Regions from separate parts of the Homo sapiens genome. Here regions 2, 3 and 4 are each linked to region 1. Evidence: promoter capture Hi-C in human tissues and cell types (Jung and others, 2019). All regions are on one chromosome and are shown on one strand. Each heading gives the region's core, a stretch centred on a gene start or on the middle of the fragment in contact. The rest is flanking DNA. Distances are from core to core; before and after follow the strand shown.

The links. The method cuts DNA at HindIII sites, captures the fragments that hold promoters and counts their contacts. A contact is called where the count stands out against the background at its distance.
Region 2: the fragment with the promoter of MKNK2 here is called in contact with the fragment with the promoter of LSM7 in region 1 in 1 of the 25 tissues and cell types used here (dorsolateral prefrontal cortex).
Region 3: a contact is called between a fragment that was not itself captured here and the fragment with the promoter of LSM7 in region 1, in 1 of the 25 tissues and cell types used here (dorsolateral prefrontal cortex).
Region 4: a fragment that was not itself captured here is called in contact with the fragment with the promoter of LSM7 in region 1 in 2 of the 25 tissues and cell types used here (dorsolateral prefrontal cortex and mesenchymal stem cells).

What each region holds. Positions count from the first base shown.
Region 1 is chr19:2,326,395-2,330,051 of GRCh38, forward strand. It overlaps LSM7 (LSM7 homolog, U6 small nuclear RNA and mRNA degradation associated), which reads right to left and starts at 2,192. Exons shown (of 4, transcript NM_016199.3): 1 at 2,167-2,192; 2 at 1,993-2,083. The coding sequence starts at 2,172. SPPL2B (signal peptide peptidase like 2B) reads left to right here and starts at 2,290. Exons shown (of 15, transcript NM_152988.3): 1 at 2,290-2,381. The coding sequence starts at 2,316. RefSeq lists silencers at 1,197-1,296, 2,317-2,576 and enhancers at 1,567-1,626, 1,907-2,561, 1,997-2,046, 2,057-2,106. The HindIII fragment of the contact is 22,122 bases long and covers 1-3,657 here.
Region 2 is chr19:2,049,224-2,052,493 of GRCh38, forward strand. MKNK2 (MAPK interacting serine/threonine kinase 2) reads right to left here and starts at 2,021. Exons shown (of 14, transcript NM_199054.3): 1 at 1,873-2,021; 2 at 1,578-1,724. The coding sequence starts at 1,628. RefSeq lists enhancers at 273-929, 1,106-1,165 and silencers at 736-925, 1,656-2,195. The HindIII fragment of the contact is 30,775 bases long and covers 1-3,270 here.
Region 3 is chr19:2,643,804-2,647,541 of GRCh38, forward strand. GNG7 (G protein subunit gamma 7) reads right to left here. Exons shown (of 5, transcript NM_052847.3): 2 at 2,421-2,477. Among named protein-coding and RNA genes, the nearest start is that of MIR7850, 15 kb to the left of the region's middle. RefSeq lists an enhancer at 1-133. The HindIII fragment of the contact is 9,525 bases long and covers 1-3,738 here.
Region 4 is chr19:2,686,543-2,690,139 of GRCh38, forward strand. The region is part of intron 1 of GNG7 (G protein subunit gamma 7); the gene reads right to left. Among named protein-coding and RNA genes, the nearest start is that of GNG7, 14 kb to the right of the region's middle. The HindIII fragment of the contact is 8,454 bases long and covers 1-3,597 here.

The sequences.
Region 1 (3,657 bases), core at 942-3,441:
GCAGTGGCGCGATCTCAGCTCACTGCAACCTCTGCCTCCAGGGCGATTCTCCTGCCTCAGCCTCCCAAGTAGCTGGGACTACAGGCATGCGCCACCATGCCCAAATAATTTTTGTATTTTTAGTAGAGATGGGGCCTTGCCATGTAGGCCAGGCTGGTCTCAAACTCCTGAACTCAAGTGATCTGCCCGCCTCAGCCTCCCAAAGTGCTGGGATTACAGGCGTGAGCCACAGCGCCCAGTTAATTGTTGTACTTTTAGTAGAGATGGGGTTTCGCCATGTTGGCCAGGCTGGTCTCGAACTCCTGACCTCAGGTGATCCACCTGCCTTAGCCTCCCAGACTGCTGGGATTAAGGCGTGAGCCCCCGCACCCGGCCCCAAACCCTTTCTGAAAGATGATTCTCCCACTGGCCCGAATAACTGAATATGGACAAATGTCAGCTCAGCCTGCAGCACTGTAGGGGCAGACCACCACGGTGGAACAGAGTCCCGAGCTGGCAGCGTCCGGGAGCTGCAAGTGTCCCTAGCCAACACTGGCCAGAACGGGGACCCTGGCCCTGCAAAGGTAAGGCACTGAGCTCTGTCAATAACCAGTGGGCTCAGAAGAAGACCCCAAGATGATGGACCCCAAAAAACAACCCTCAGTTACAACCTCCTGAGAGCCCTTGAGGCTGTGGTACCCTGGCTCCTGACTCACAGATCCTGTGAGATAATAAAATGGTGCTGTTTCAGCTGCTAAATGGGTGATTTGCTATGAAGGGCAGAAAACAAAGGGAAGCAGTGTGACCAGCAAGAGCGGCCGCTCACTCATGTCCTTCCATGTCCGGAGTCAGCATGGTGTAGACTGAGAAAACATTTTATTCATATTCCTTTTTCTTTTTGTTTTGAGACGGAGTCTTGCCCTATCGCCAGGCTGGAGTGCGGTGGCACAATCTCGCCTCTGGGGTTCAAGCAATTCTCCTGCCTCAGCCCCCCGAGTAGCTGGGACTACAAGCGTGCGCCACCATGCCCAGCTAACTTTTTGTATTTTAGTAGAGACAGGGTTTCACCACGTAGGCCAGGATGGTCTTGATCTCCTGACCTCCTGATCTGCCTGCCTCGGCCTCCCAAAGTGTCAAGATTAAAGGCATGAGCCACTGTGCCTGGCCTCCTTTTTCTCTTTTGAGACTGGGCCTTGCTCTGTGGCCCAGGCTGGAGTGCAGTGGTGCGGTCATAGCTCACTGCAGCCTCAAACCCTAGGGTGAAGCCACCCTCCTGCTTCAGACTCCCAAATTGCTGGGATTACACACGTGAGCCGCCCCGTCCGGCTGGGGCACTGTGATTTTTAATAACTCTCATGCCACCCAGTTGTCTACAATCCAGGGACAAAGAGGTTTGGGTCCCCGTCTTACAAAAAAAAGAAACCAAAGATCCAAGAGGCTATTGAATAAGTGACGTGTTGTCTGACTGCTTACTTCCTGCTGAGAGCTGCCTCAATTACATTACATGCCTGTAACCATTCATTCTCACCACCCCCTGTGAAGTGGGTGGAGTTACCAGCCCCATTTGACAAATGAGGAAACGGAGGCTAGGAGAAGGCAGCTCACTTGCCCAGTCAAAAATGCTAGGCTGGGCATGGTGGCTCATGCCTGAAATCCCAGCAATTTAGGGGGCTGAGGCAGGCAGATCGCTTGAGGCCAGGAGTTTGAGACCATCCTGGCCAACATGGCCTCTCTACTAAAAATACAAATATTAGCCGGGCGTGGTGGTACACATTAATTCCAGCTACTCGGGAGGCTGAGGCACAAGAATCACTTGAACCTGGGAGGCGGAGGTTGCAGTGAGCTGAGATCGCACCACTGCACTCCAGCCCGGGTGACAGAGCGAGACTGCGTCTCAAAAAAAATAATGAAAATAAATAAAAGAGGTGCTTCCGCATGCGTCCTCATCATCTCTGTTGCTGGGTTTATTTGAAATTTTTAAAGAGGGGGTACCGACAGCGGGAGCCTCCTCACCTTCGCGGCCTCCCTGGAACTTTACCCGGATCGTCTTGTCGATGTACTTGGACAAGTCCAAGATGCTCTCCTTTTTCTTCTTCTCCTTATCCTGCGGGGAAAGCAGAGCGCATGAGACCTGGAGCGCGGCCCGAGCTCCACGCCCCCCGGCTCCAGATTCCGCCGCGCGCTCACCGCCATCTTGTCGCGCCGTGTGGCTCTTCGCAGGCACCGCCCCGCGCCCTTTGACCTCCCCCACGCGCATGCGCGGCGCATGCGTGGCCCGGGGTCTCGGGGCGTTGCTGGGAAACATCTGCCGTTGGTTGCGGCGGGCACCGGCCGACATGGCGGCAGCGGTGGCGGCTGCGCTGGCGCGGCTTTTGGCGGCCTTTCTGCTCCTCGCGGCCCAGGTGAGCGCGGCACCGGTCCCGACGGCACCGCGGGCTGCGGCCCTTCGGCCTCTCTGTCCCCGGGCTACGCGCAGGAACGACCCCGCTCGGCCCGTCTTGGGGGTCCAGCCTCGGGGATCCGCCGTCCCCGCGTTGTCGGCCGGCGGTGCCGGGGCTCGGCCGTGACCTTGCGGGTCTGTCCCCGGCTCCTCTCCTTTCCCCGCCTCGGAGGCCCTCCGCCGCTGCAGCGCCACTCACTTCCCACCGGGTCTGAAATTTGTGCCCCCTCCATCCTCCGGTTCTGCTTCTCCGTTTCGGGGTCTCCAGTTGCCGCCGGGGACGCCTCTCTCCGGCTCTGTGGCCTTGAGCAGGCGGCTGCCCACCCCTCTCCGAGCCTCAGTTTCCCCTTAGGCGGAACGGGCACGGTGCTAAGCTAACCTCACCCTAGGGGGTGCGGTGGGGGAACCCAGAGGCGTCCCGCGCGTCCCCCAGTAACTGGCAGCATCCTGGAGCGGCCAGGAGTCCAGCCCTGCACTGGGGTCGGATCCCCGCTCCATCTTTTACTCCGTGACCTTGGACGATGGAATTCGTGTGCAGAAGGAGGACCGACTATGGTGTGGATTCTGGAGGTTCTGTCCAGGGTGACCAGCGCCCAGGGCCAACAGGCCTTCATTATGTTCATTGTGTGTCATTTGATGTAAAGAGTGTCAGGTTCTAGTGGGGACAGTCTACGAGATCGCACTGTCATAACTGCATCTTTTATTTTCTTAATTCCAAATCTTCCCTCTCTCCTGAGTTCGGTGGCTCAGGCAATGGAACCTGGAGCAGCCCCACAAATGCAGCCCTTAACCTTCACTACCCCCTCAGAGTTCTCACTCTTAAGGCGTCGCCGCCACCTGGCTCCTCAGTCTCCACTCCTCCAGCCCCACCGCTATCCCTCTGCTGTGGCTGCCTTTGTCCACCACATCCCCAGTCCATCCTCGACACAGCAGGGGTGACCCTTTCAAAGTATGTCAGACCGTGTCGCATCCAGATGAGTGCGCCGTCCAGTTGTGACCTGGCTGCTGGGGAAGCCTGCAGCTCATTGCAGTCGCTTCACTCTCTAGTCTTTTCTCTTACCCTGAGATGCCCCTGGTCTCTGCAAGGCTGTCGGGCCCCCTCGGAAGCTTTCTGAGAACCCCAGTCCTACCCCCAGCTGCTCTGTCAGCCCCCTTTGGACTCCCCCCATTCTGCAGCCAGGCACCTAGAGCTCCCCAGACATTTGGAAGGAGGGGGAAAGCCAGAGGTGGAAGAAAGA
Region 2 (3,270 bases), core at 771-3,270, 280 kb before region 1:
TCAGAGCCTCACTTTCCCATCTGCGAACGGAAAGAAACCCAAGGCACCCACAGACGTGCCTCCCTGCTGGGCTGCTGCCTGCTGGAGGCAAGGAGAGTATTTCAGGAGAGGTGGCCCCAATCCAGGGAGCAGCCGTGCATGGTGGGGGCTGTGGGGGGAGATTCCTAGAGCAACCGGTCCCGGCCACCTGGAGGAACACCTCACAGCCAGGACTGCCTGCCAGGCCCTCCTCCACCAAGACGCCCACCTTCCCAGCTCCCAGCCAGGCTGCCCTGGCCATGCACAGAGGCCGGCCCACAATCCTGGGCAGTGTGGGCGGTCCTGGTCCCACTGTTCTAGGTCTGGCTGTGGGACTCGAGTCAGCAGGCCTTGGCAGGAGGTGGCTGGAACCATCTAGAAAGTTCAAGTGTGCTTTAGCTGCCTGGCTGGCCCCATGCACTGACTCTGTATCAGCTCATGCCTGGCCCTAGGAGGGAGAAGACCACTGTCAGGTCCTCCTCTTTCCCGCCCAGCCCCTGACACTCTGATGGTGCCAGGCCTGCTGCCCTAGGGGAAAACTGGGCAGGGGTGGCAGGGGTGGAGTGCTGCCCTGGGGCACTGGCTGGACAGACCTGGGAATTCTTCCCAGTCTCTCTTTGCTCCTCCCACCCTGGAGCACCGCGTTGTGTGTACACACAAGACAGAGACACACACACACACAAACACACACACATACACTCACACTCTCTCTTCCTCTCTCCAGTCCTGCCTTCCCTACCGGGCAACAGGTCCCTGCCCAAGGAAGCCCAGTGAAGCGATTACATAACCCCGGCCTGAGGGGTGGGGCGGGCCGGCTGACATCACTGCGTCCCCTGGGCCAGGTCCTGCGGGGCCCCTGCCCAGCACCTGCCCTCCCCTTCCCCCCCAAGATTTGCTCATCTGAAACCAGCACTCAACAGCAGTCACCACCCGGGCTGCGCAGAAACTTCCCGCTCCGACAGGAAACAGCACTTGGGCCTGGGGTGTCTGCGAAGTGCAGGGCTGAGGGGACATCCCATCCCCTCCCCCACGGCACAGGCCCCCTGGGGGTGGGTGCACCTGACCAGCCCGGCCTGGGGATTCTGAAAGAAAGTCCCCAGAAGCCACATGGAGGTGGGAATGGGACTGTGGCCCGCTGACCCGTCCCCACCAGGGCACAACCAGCTGGAGCTTGCAGGGGACACCCCCCATAAGCCACATGCAGCGACTGGGACAGGACTGCAGCCTGCTGACCCCCCAGAACATACCCGGCGGGGGCTTGCAGGGGACACACAGCCTGGTGCCCTGACCCGGAGGGGGCTCCTGCTCCCAGCCTCACTTGGGGGTCCTGGAGGAAGGACCCGGCGGCCATGGCTGGAGAGAGGACTGTGGCCTGCTGAACCCCCATCCTCGCACACCGACCCCGCTTCAGCGCACGGCCGGCCCGGGCAGCCCCGGGTGTAGGGCGGGGGCCAGGCACGAGCCCCGGGAGCCGATCTTAGGGGCGGGCCCCGCGCCCCCCACGCCGGCCATTCCGGTGGTCCAGCCCGGAGCGCCCCCAAACCGACCCCGGGCCTCACCTTGAACGAACGGTGGAAACCCTGAAGTTCGGCTGGTTTCTTCTGCACCATCTTCTGTCCGGGCCCCGCCAGCGGGGGAGGGGACCGAGGGCCCGGGGGGAGGCCCGAGGGCGGGCGGCCGGGCGGGGGGCGGCCGAGGAGGGGACCCTGCGGGCGGGAGCAGACAAAGGGAGGGCGGTGAGCGGAGCCCGGCCTGCCAGGAGCGCGGACCGGGCGGGGGCGGCGAGGGCTCCGCGGGGCCCGTTTCCCGCTACCGGGTCGGTGTCCTCGGGGCCGCCCTGGGGTTCGCACTCACCGGGGTCGGGCTTGGGCCGGGGCCGCAGTGCCGCCGCCGCCCCACGTCGCGCAGCCCGGACCCCGCTCCGCGGACCGCGCGGGGAACAGCGCCGCCGCCGCCGCCAGCGCGGACCCCTCTACCTGGGCCACCGCCGCTGAGAGGAGCCGGGCGCGTCGCCGCCGCCGCCACCTTTATAGGCCCGGACCTGCTCTGGCCCCGCCCCCGACGCAGGCTCCGCCCGGCCTCACCCCCTGCGCACGACGTGGGCGGAGCCAGAAGAGGGCGCTCTCCGGGAACCCAGTGCGGCTGCGCGCTCCGGCGGTGGGGCGTGTCCGAAACGGCTAGCGCACGCCTGCGCAGTGCGGCGCACGGGGGTCTCGGTGCGGAACCTAGGCAGCGACCCTGCGGCGCGCCCGGAGCTGGCCTGTTTTTGCCGCCTGAGGCTCGCGGGGCCCGTGGGACCTGCGAGGCCCTGGGCCGTGTCCTACCGCCTGGCCCCACACAGGGCAACTCCCTTGGCCTGTCAACCCAGGCCTAGTATACCCCGACTCCCTTGGTTCATGCCCTCGCTCTAGAACCTGCCATGGCTCCCTCTTGCAGTTCTCCAGTGCTGGCTCCAGCAGTCCCCCTCGTGCACCACCAGCACGCTTGGAGTCCCAGCCACTCCCTTCTAGTGCTGGGGGACCAGCCACCGCCACCTACTTTCTTCTTCCCCTGGGCCACCCTGCCTGGGGAGCACTGAGCTCCCCGAGTTTGCTTTGTGGTTGGCAGGAACCAGAGTAGAGGGTGGGGACCGAGGTCTGTGAAGGACCCTTCCTCTGTCCTCGAATAGCATTTCAGGGAGAACTGGGACCTGAGACCCACTGGGAAAGAGCCCAAGGGGTGGATGGTCGCCAGGACAGGAAGTAAAACACAGTCCCATTTTGGCTGGGGCCCCAAACCAGGCTTAGATAGAATCAGCCTGTCCTGAGCTGCCAGTCCCCCATCCCACAGCATCCTGGTTCAAAGTGCTCCCCAGGCCCCGGGCCTGGGGCACACAAGGAGTGGGGGTTCCCCTGCTGGGTGGACTGTGGTCTCCTCTTCTGCAGGGGTTTCCAGAAGCTTCGCACAGCCCATCCCACCATCCCCCAACCAGGCCCTGAGCTCAAGAGGGGCTGGAGCCCCACTGACCTGAAGCTGGAGGGCCCCTGCCTGCAAGGCCACAGCTCTCAGGCCACAGGGGCTGGGAGGCCTGGCCTCAGCCACCCCCGGGGCATTGGGGGGAAGCCTGTGGGGAATTCCCAGCCAGAACCCAGCCCAGCACCTGGCATTGCCCTGACTCTTGGCAATGGGGGGACAGAAAACCAGGTCCCCCAGCCCCCCTTATTGTGCATGTGGGTGCGTGTGTGTGCGTGTGAACACATACACGCACAAACA
Region 3 (3,738 bases), core at 842-3,341, 320 kb after region 1:
CCATCAGCATAATCTCAATGGGACGCTGTCATCGACTCCCAGAGCTGCCCCGATCCCAACCCCCCAGCCTCCAGGCGACCTCTGATCTGTCACCTTTTCTAGAATTTTCCTGTAAGTGGAATTGTACAATATGAAGTCCTTTACATTTTTATGTTTGGCTTCATAAATAAATATTATACATATATTTTATATCTACACTTTTTGCATCTACACTTTATTTTATTTTATTATTTCTGAGATGGAGTCTCGCTCTGTCGCCCAGGCTGGAGTGCAGTGGCGCAATCTCAGCTCACTGCAACCTCCGTCTCCCGCGTTCAAGCAATCCTCCCACCTCAGCCCCCCAAGTAGCTGGGATTACAGGTGCCTAACACCACACCTGGCTAATTTTTGTATTTTTAGTAGAAACGGGGTTTCGCCATGTTGGCCAGGCTAGTCTCAAACTCCTGACCTCAGGTGATCCACCTGCCTTGGCCTCCCAAAGTGCTGGGATTACAGGTGTGAGCCACTGCACCCGGCCTACACTTTATATATATATATATATATATATATATATATATATATATATATATATATATATAATGCTCTATCTATACATGCATCATGTTATTGAGATGTAATTCATATGACATACAGTGCACCCATTTAAAATGCATAATTCTTTCTGAGTATTATCTGCGGCACCAAAAAGAAGAAAAAAATCATAAAATAAAAAGAAAACGCACAATTCAATGGCATTTAGTACATTCAGAGTCCTGCAACCATCACCACTAATTCCAGAACATTCTAATTATGCCAAGAAGAAGAAACCCATCAACCATCACTTCCCATGCCCCTCCCAGTCTCGGCACCCACGCATCCCCTCCCTGCCTCTGTGGATCGGCCCGTCCTGAACCTTTTGTAGAAAGGGGATCACATGCTGTGTGGCCTTTTGTGTCTGGCATCTCTTACTGAGCGTGACGTCCTCAAGGTACATCCACACTGTGGCCTGTGTCAAAGCTTCATTCCTTTTCATGGCTGAGTAACACTCCATGGTGTGGATGGAGGATGTTCTGCTGATCCATTCACCCATTGATGGACATTTGGAGTCTTTGCCTTATTGCTAAATTTGAACATATTCTTGACTTTTGAGTACATCTGTTTCTGAATTACCTCTCATGACCATTGACTACTAAGGATGAGACCAAAATGATTTATACTGGGCTTAGCTAAAATATGCATTTTTAAGGTACACATTACATGCCATAAAATTCAAGTGAAGTGTACTGCTCAAAGATACTTCAGGGCCGGGTGCAATGGTACGCACCTGTAATCCTGGCACTTTGGGAAGTCAAAGCAGGAAGATCACTTGAGCCACGGAGTTCAAGACCAGCCTGGGCAACAAAGCAAACCCTAACTCTTTTCTGTTTTTCTTTCTTTCTTTCTTTTCTCTCTCTCTCTCTCTTTTTTTTTTTTTTAGAAGGAGTTTCGCTCTGTCACCCAGGCTGGAGCGCAGTGGCATGATCTTGGCTCACTGCAACCACCATCTCCCAGGCTCAAGTGATTCTCGCACCTCAGCCTCCCGAGTAGCTTGGACTCTAGGCACCTGCCACCACGCCTGGCTGATTTTCCTATTTTTAGTAGAGATGGGGTTTCACCATGTTGGTCAGGCTGGTCTGGAACTCCTGACCTCAGGTGATCCACCCATCTCGGCCTCCCAAAGTGCTGGGATTACAGGCATGAGCCACCATGCCTGGCCAAAACCCTAACTCTTAAAAAAAAATTTTGTTTTAAGATTTTTAAGTAAGTTCACCAGGTTGCGGTCACCCCGACCCGACCATCGGGTCCATTTCCACGTCCCTGGCAAGTCTCTGGTGCACATTCATGTCCCCAGCCTCCAATCACCACGAGTCCCTTTCTGTCCCTATGGCTTTGCCTTTTCTGGACATTTCTGCCTTCCTTTCTACTTATTTTTAAATGGTTTCCTCTTCCTACATTTTAAAAGCCACTCATGATTCTCTAGGGAGAAAAACGAGGAGTAAATCAACAGAGGAGAGCTAAAGGGCCAGCGACGGGTCACTCTCCAGGTGCACAGGAGATACGGGTGAAGGCTCCTTAAAACTCCCTACCATGGCACGAAGACACCGGAAAGGCATGCAGCACCGCTGTGGGCTTCCCACCCTGACCCCATCCAGGGGCTCCGGCACCAGCAGGACCAGTGAGTGCCACGTTCCCTGCCTCGTGGGCGGGAAACTCTGCCAGGAGCTAGCAGCTGTTACCCACACCTGCTCCCCATTACCCATACTTGGTGGATACAAACAGCCGACAGACCCAGGTCAAGGCCAAGACGCCCGCCTTGACGGCAACCCCACGTCTTACATCCAGGGTGCAAAACAGCCAACTGAACCTCAAATCATAACAAAGAAATGCATTACAGCACCGACCTGTGCAGGAGGTCTCGCCGTCTGCAGCACCGAGATCCCGAAACCAAGCTCCACTCCCTGGAAAAAACACATAGAGTTAGTTTGGCGTGGCTTGGCTGGAGGCACCATGCATGTGTTGATGGGGTCAGCATTGGAGAACGGCCTCGCGCTTGTGATTGGACAAGGACAGAAATCATTTTGGCAACCAGGCGCGGTGGCTTAGGCCTGTAATCCCAGCACTTTGGGAGGCCAAGGCAGGTGGATCATGAGGTCAGAAGTTCGAGACCAGCCTGGCCAACATGGCAAAATCCCGTCTCTACTAAAAATATAAAAATTAGCCAACGTGGTGGTGGGTGCCTGTAGTCCCAGCTACTTAGGAGGCTGAGGCAGGAGAATCCCTTGAACCCGGGAGGCAGAGGGTGCAGTGAGCTGAGATCGAGCCACTGTCCTCCAGCCTGGGCAACAGGGCAAGACTCTGCTTCAAAAAAAAAAATAATAGAAAAGGAAAAAAGCAGAAGACAATTCACTGAAAATATTTATTATTAGAGATTTATGACGTTATTCCTAATACATTTTCCACGTGTTTGAAAACTGAACTGAGTGCAAGGATTGATGTTTCTACGGCTCTTCACAGTTTATCAAAAACATCTCTGTACATCTTTGGAGCCTCACGATCTCCCTGGGAGGAAGAAGAAGGGGCTGAGTTAGTCCCACGGTGCCCAGAAGGCACCCAACGTATCCAGGTCTGCCCAGGACTTTTCCAGAGTTAGCCTGAAAGTCCTGCATCCTGGGAAGTCCCTCAGCCCCAGCTCAGCTGGTACGGGCAGTCTCTGAGCAGAACCAGGCTGGCACCACATGCCTGAGGCTGCGACCAGGAACTCCCCACCTCGGGGGACTCGGGGGGACCCTGCCACCATCACTGACAGGACAAGCTCCAGGGCCAAAGCTGTTCCTGCAAACACCGTGGTTTATATGAAATCCTTGCCTCCCTCTGGAGCCTGGAATCCTGGCATGGGTCAGGCAGCAGGGGCAGCAGAACCAGCCCCCATAGGAACGTGGGTGCTGGGTCTCTGGGAGCCTCGCTGGTGACAGTGCTTTGGGCTGTTGTCCCAGCTCGCTGCTGGGGATGTGGCGTGTCCCGCGTGACACATGGGGAGAGGGCCTGGAAGCTGGGCCTAGAAGCCGGGCCTGGCCTCCCCGACCCACCCCACGAGCCTTTCCCTTCCCAAACTCTGCTCTGTGCTCCATGTCCTCTTGCTGGGACAAACCACAGTCACAAGGAGGCCTCATGCGGAGTCCAGGGTCCTCCCAGCGAGTCGCCCCATCTCTACAAAATGAC
Region 4 (3,597 bases), core at 982-3,481, 360 kb after region 1:
CACTGGGATCCCGGCCAATCCCCGCAACACATTCGGGACCGGCAGGACGCATATGTCTCCAATCAGAAGGGAGATGTCTCTCCTGAGCTCTCTTCAGTGTTTGCCGCCAAGATGGGGAAGACGACGAGTTTCCAACACCCTGAAACGATCCCAAGGAGCGGAGCCTTTGTAGGGTGGGGTCAAAAGAGACTTTACTTACTTTTTTTCTTTCTTTTTTTTTTTTTTTTGAGACAGAGTCTCGCTCTCTCGCCCAGGGTGGAGTACAGTGGCACGATCTCGGCTCACTGCAAGCTCTGCCTCCCAGGTTCACACCATTCCCCTGCCTCAGCCTCCTGAGTAGCTGGGACTACAGGCGCCCGCCACCACATCCAGCTAACTTTTTGTATTTTTTAGTAGAGACGGGGTTTCACCGTGTTAGCCAGGATGGTCTCGATCTCCTGACCTCGTGATCCGCCCGCCTCGGCCTCCCAAAGTGCTGGGATTACAGGCGTGAGCCACCGCGCCTGGCCACTTTTTTTCTTTTTTTTTTTTTTGAGACAAGGTCTGGCTCTGTCACCCACACTGGAGTGCAGGGGCATGATCTTGGCTCACTGCAGCCTCAACTTCCTGGGCTCAAGCGACCCTCCTGCCTCGGACTCCCGAGTAGCTGGGATTACAGGCATGCGCCACTATACTCAGTTAATTTTTTTCTCTTTTTTGTAGAGATGGTGTCTTACTATGTTGTCCAGGCTGGTCTCAAGCTCCTGGGCTCAAGCAATCCTCTCATCTTGGCCTCCCAAAGTGCTGGGGTTAGGCTGGGCATGGTGGCTCACACCTGTAATGCCAGCACTTTGGGAGGCCGAGGCGGGTGGATCACCTGAGGTCAGGAGTTCGAGACCAGCCTGGCCAACATGGAGAAACCCTGCCTCTACTAAAAATACAAAATTAGCCAGGCATGGTGGCCCATGCCTGTAATCCCAGCTAGTTGGGAGGTTGAGGTAGGAGAATCGCTTGAGCCCGGGAGGCAGAGGTTGCGGTGAGCCGAGATCGCACCATTGCACTCCAGCCTGGGCAACAAGAGTGAAACTCCATCTCAAAAAACAAACAAACAAAAAAAAGTGCTGGCATGACAGGAGTAAGCCACCAGCCTGGCCAAGAAGTTTAAATCATGATGCCGGGCGCGGTGGCTCACGCCTGTAATTCCAGCACTTTGGGAGGCCGAGGCAGGCAGATCACATGGTCAGGAGTTCGAGACCAGCCTGGCCAACACGGCGAAACCCCATCTCTACTAAAAATACAAAAAATTAGCCGGGCAAGGTGGCACGCACCTGTAATCCCAACTATTTGGGAGGCTGAGGCAGGAGAATCAGTTGAACCTGAGTGAGCTGAGATCGTGCCACTGTACTCCAACCTGGGCAACAAGAACAAAACTCTGCCTCCAGATAAAATAGCCGGGCGCGGTGGCTCACGCCTGTAATCCCAGCACTTTGGGAGGCCGAGCTGGGCAGATCACAAGGTCAGGAGATCGAGACTATCCTGGCTAACACGGTGAAACCCCGTCCCTACTAAAAATAACAAAAAATTAGCCGGGCATGGTGGCGGGTGCCTGTAGTCCCAGTTACTCGGGAGGCTGAGGCAGGAGAATGGTGTAAACCCAGGAGGTGGAGCTTGCAGTGAGCCAAGATCGCGCCACTGCACTCCAGCCTGGGCGACAGAGCGAGACTCCGTCTCAACAAAAGAAAAAAGAAATCATGATGCAAAGATGAAAAGCAAAGTTTGCCGTACGAAGGATGGAGTCGGTGTCAGTGCTCTGGGGAAGTGGGGAGTTCCCTCAGCAAGAATGACCTCAGAGTAGCTGGTAGGTGGGCTAAGGCCACCTGGGCTGGGAGAACCAGGTTAACAGCACCAGTAGGAAGTCACCAGGGTCTCAAGGATCCCCAGCAGGGAGAGAGCAACAGGGCACCTCACCCCTACGTGTTCTTTCCCGAAACCCGTAACCCCGGTCTGATCACGAGAGAAATATCTGACAAACCTAGATCAGAAGTAAGTCTGCACAATACCCAGCCGGTCCCCCTAAGACCGTCCAGGTCACGAGAGGTAACGAACATCTAAGACATGGTCCCAACCTGGAAGAACCCCCGGAGACGAGCCGGCTAAATGTCACGTGGGATTCTAGATGGGTCCTGGGGCAGGAAAGGACATTAGGGGAAGATTAATGACATTTGAATAAAGTGTGGAGTTGAGAGAAATGAACCCATTGTTAGCCGGGCACAGTGGCTCCCGTCTGTCCTCCTAACACTTTGGGAGTCCGGGGTGGCAGGATCACTTGTGTTCAGGAGTTCGAGACCAGCCTAGGCAAAATAGCGAGACCTCATCTCTACAATAAAACAAAAATTAGCCAGGCACGGGGTTGCGTGCCTGTGGTCCCAGCTACTCAGGAGGCTGAGGTGGGAGGATCGCTTGAGCCCAGGAGTTGGAGGCTACAGTGAGCCATGATCACTCCACTGCACTTAGCCTGGGCGACAGAGTAAGACTCTGTCTCAAAAAAAAATGTAAATGTAAATTTAAAAAATATTACTTTTAATGGCAAAGACCACAATTATGTTTGCCCCAACATAATAAATACATACAATAAATAAATAAATAAGAAAAAAATAAACAAAAATAAAAATAATGCAAAAAAAAAGGGGGAAAAAAATGCCAATCATACTATGCATGGCACCGTGTTATAGGGGAAAAAAAATAATTATATAAAATTGTTCCCAAATCATTAAGCCCTTCTCATTATGGAGGCTACAGGAATAAACGCTCCTAACAAGACCACATTTGGGCCGGGCTCGGTGGGCCTCCCAGCACTTTGGGAGGCCAAGGCGGGTGGATCACCTGAGGTCAGAAGTTCGAGACCAGCCTGGCCATCATGGTGAAACCCCGTCTCTACTAAAAATACAAAAAATAGCCGGGTGTGGTGGTGGACGCCTGTAATCCCAGCTACTCAGGAGGCTAAGGCAGGAGGATCACTTGAACCTGGGAGGCGGAGGCTGCAGTGAGCTGAGATGGCGCCATTGCACTCCAGCCTGGGCTACAGAGTGAGACTCCAACTCAAAAAAAAAAAAAAAAAAAAAAAAAAACCATATTCGATGCAATTCTCTGAAGTTAACTGTTAGAGCTCTGACAACACAGAGGCTGAAATGACATGACAAATGCTAAAGTACAAAGTTCCAAGATCAAGTCCCAGCATGACCACTAACTCGTGAAACCTCCAGACCTCAGTTTTCCCATGCATAAAGCGTGCGAGATGGACTCGAGGGCCAACACGCTTTTTCGGTAAGAGTCCAGATACCCAGTGTTTTCAGCCTTGCGGTGGAGCCACTCTCTACGGCAACGACTTAACTACACCATGGTAGCAGAATACACAGAGCAGTGTGCCAATAAAACATTATTTCTGGACACTAAAATCTGAATGCCATATAATTGTCATGTGTCATGGCCTTTTCTTTGACTTTTGTTTTTTGCTTCTTTTGGCGGCGGGTAGAAGCAGGGCTTCCTTTGACTTTTTTTTCCAACCATTTAAAAATGGAGGCCGGGCACGGTGGCTCACGTCTGTAATCCCAGCACTTT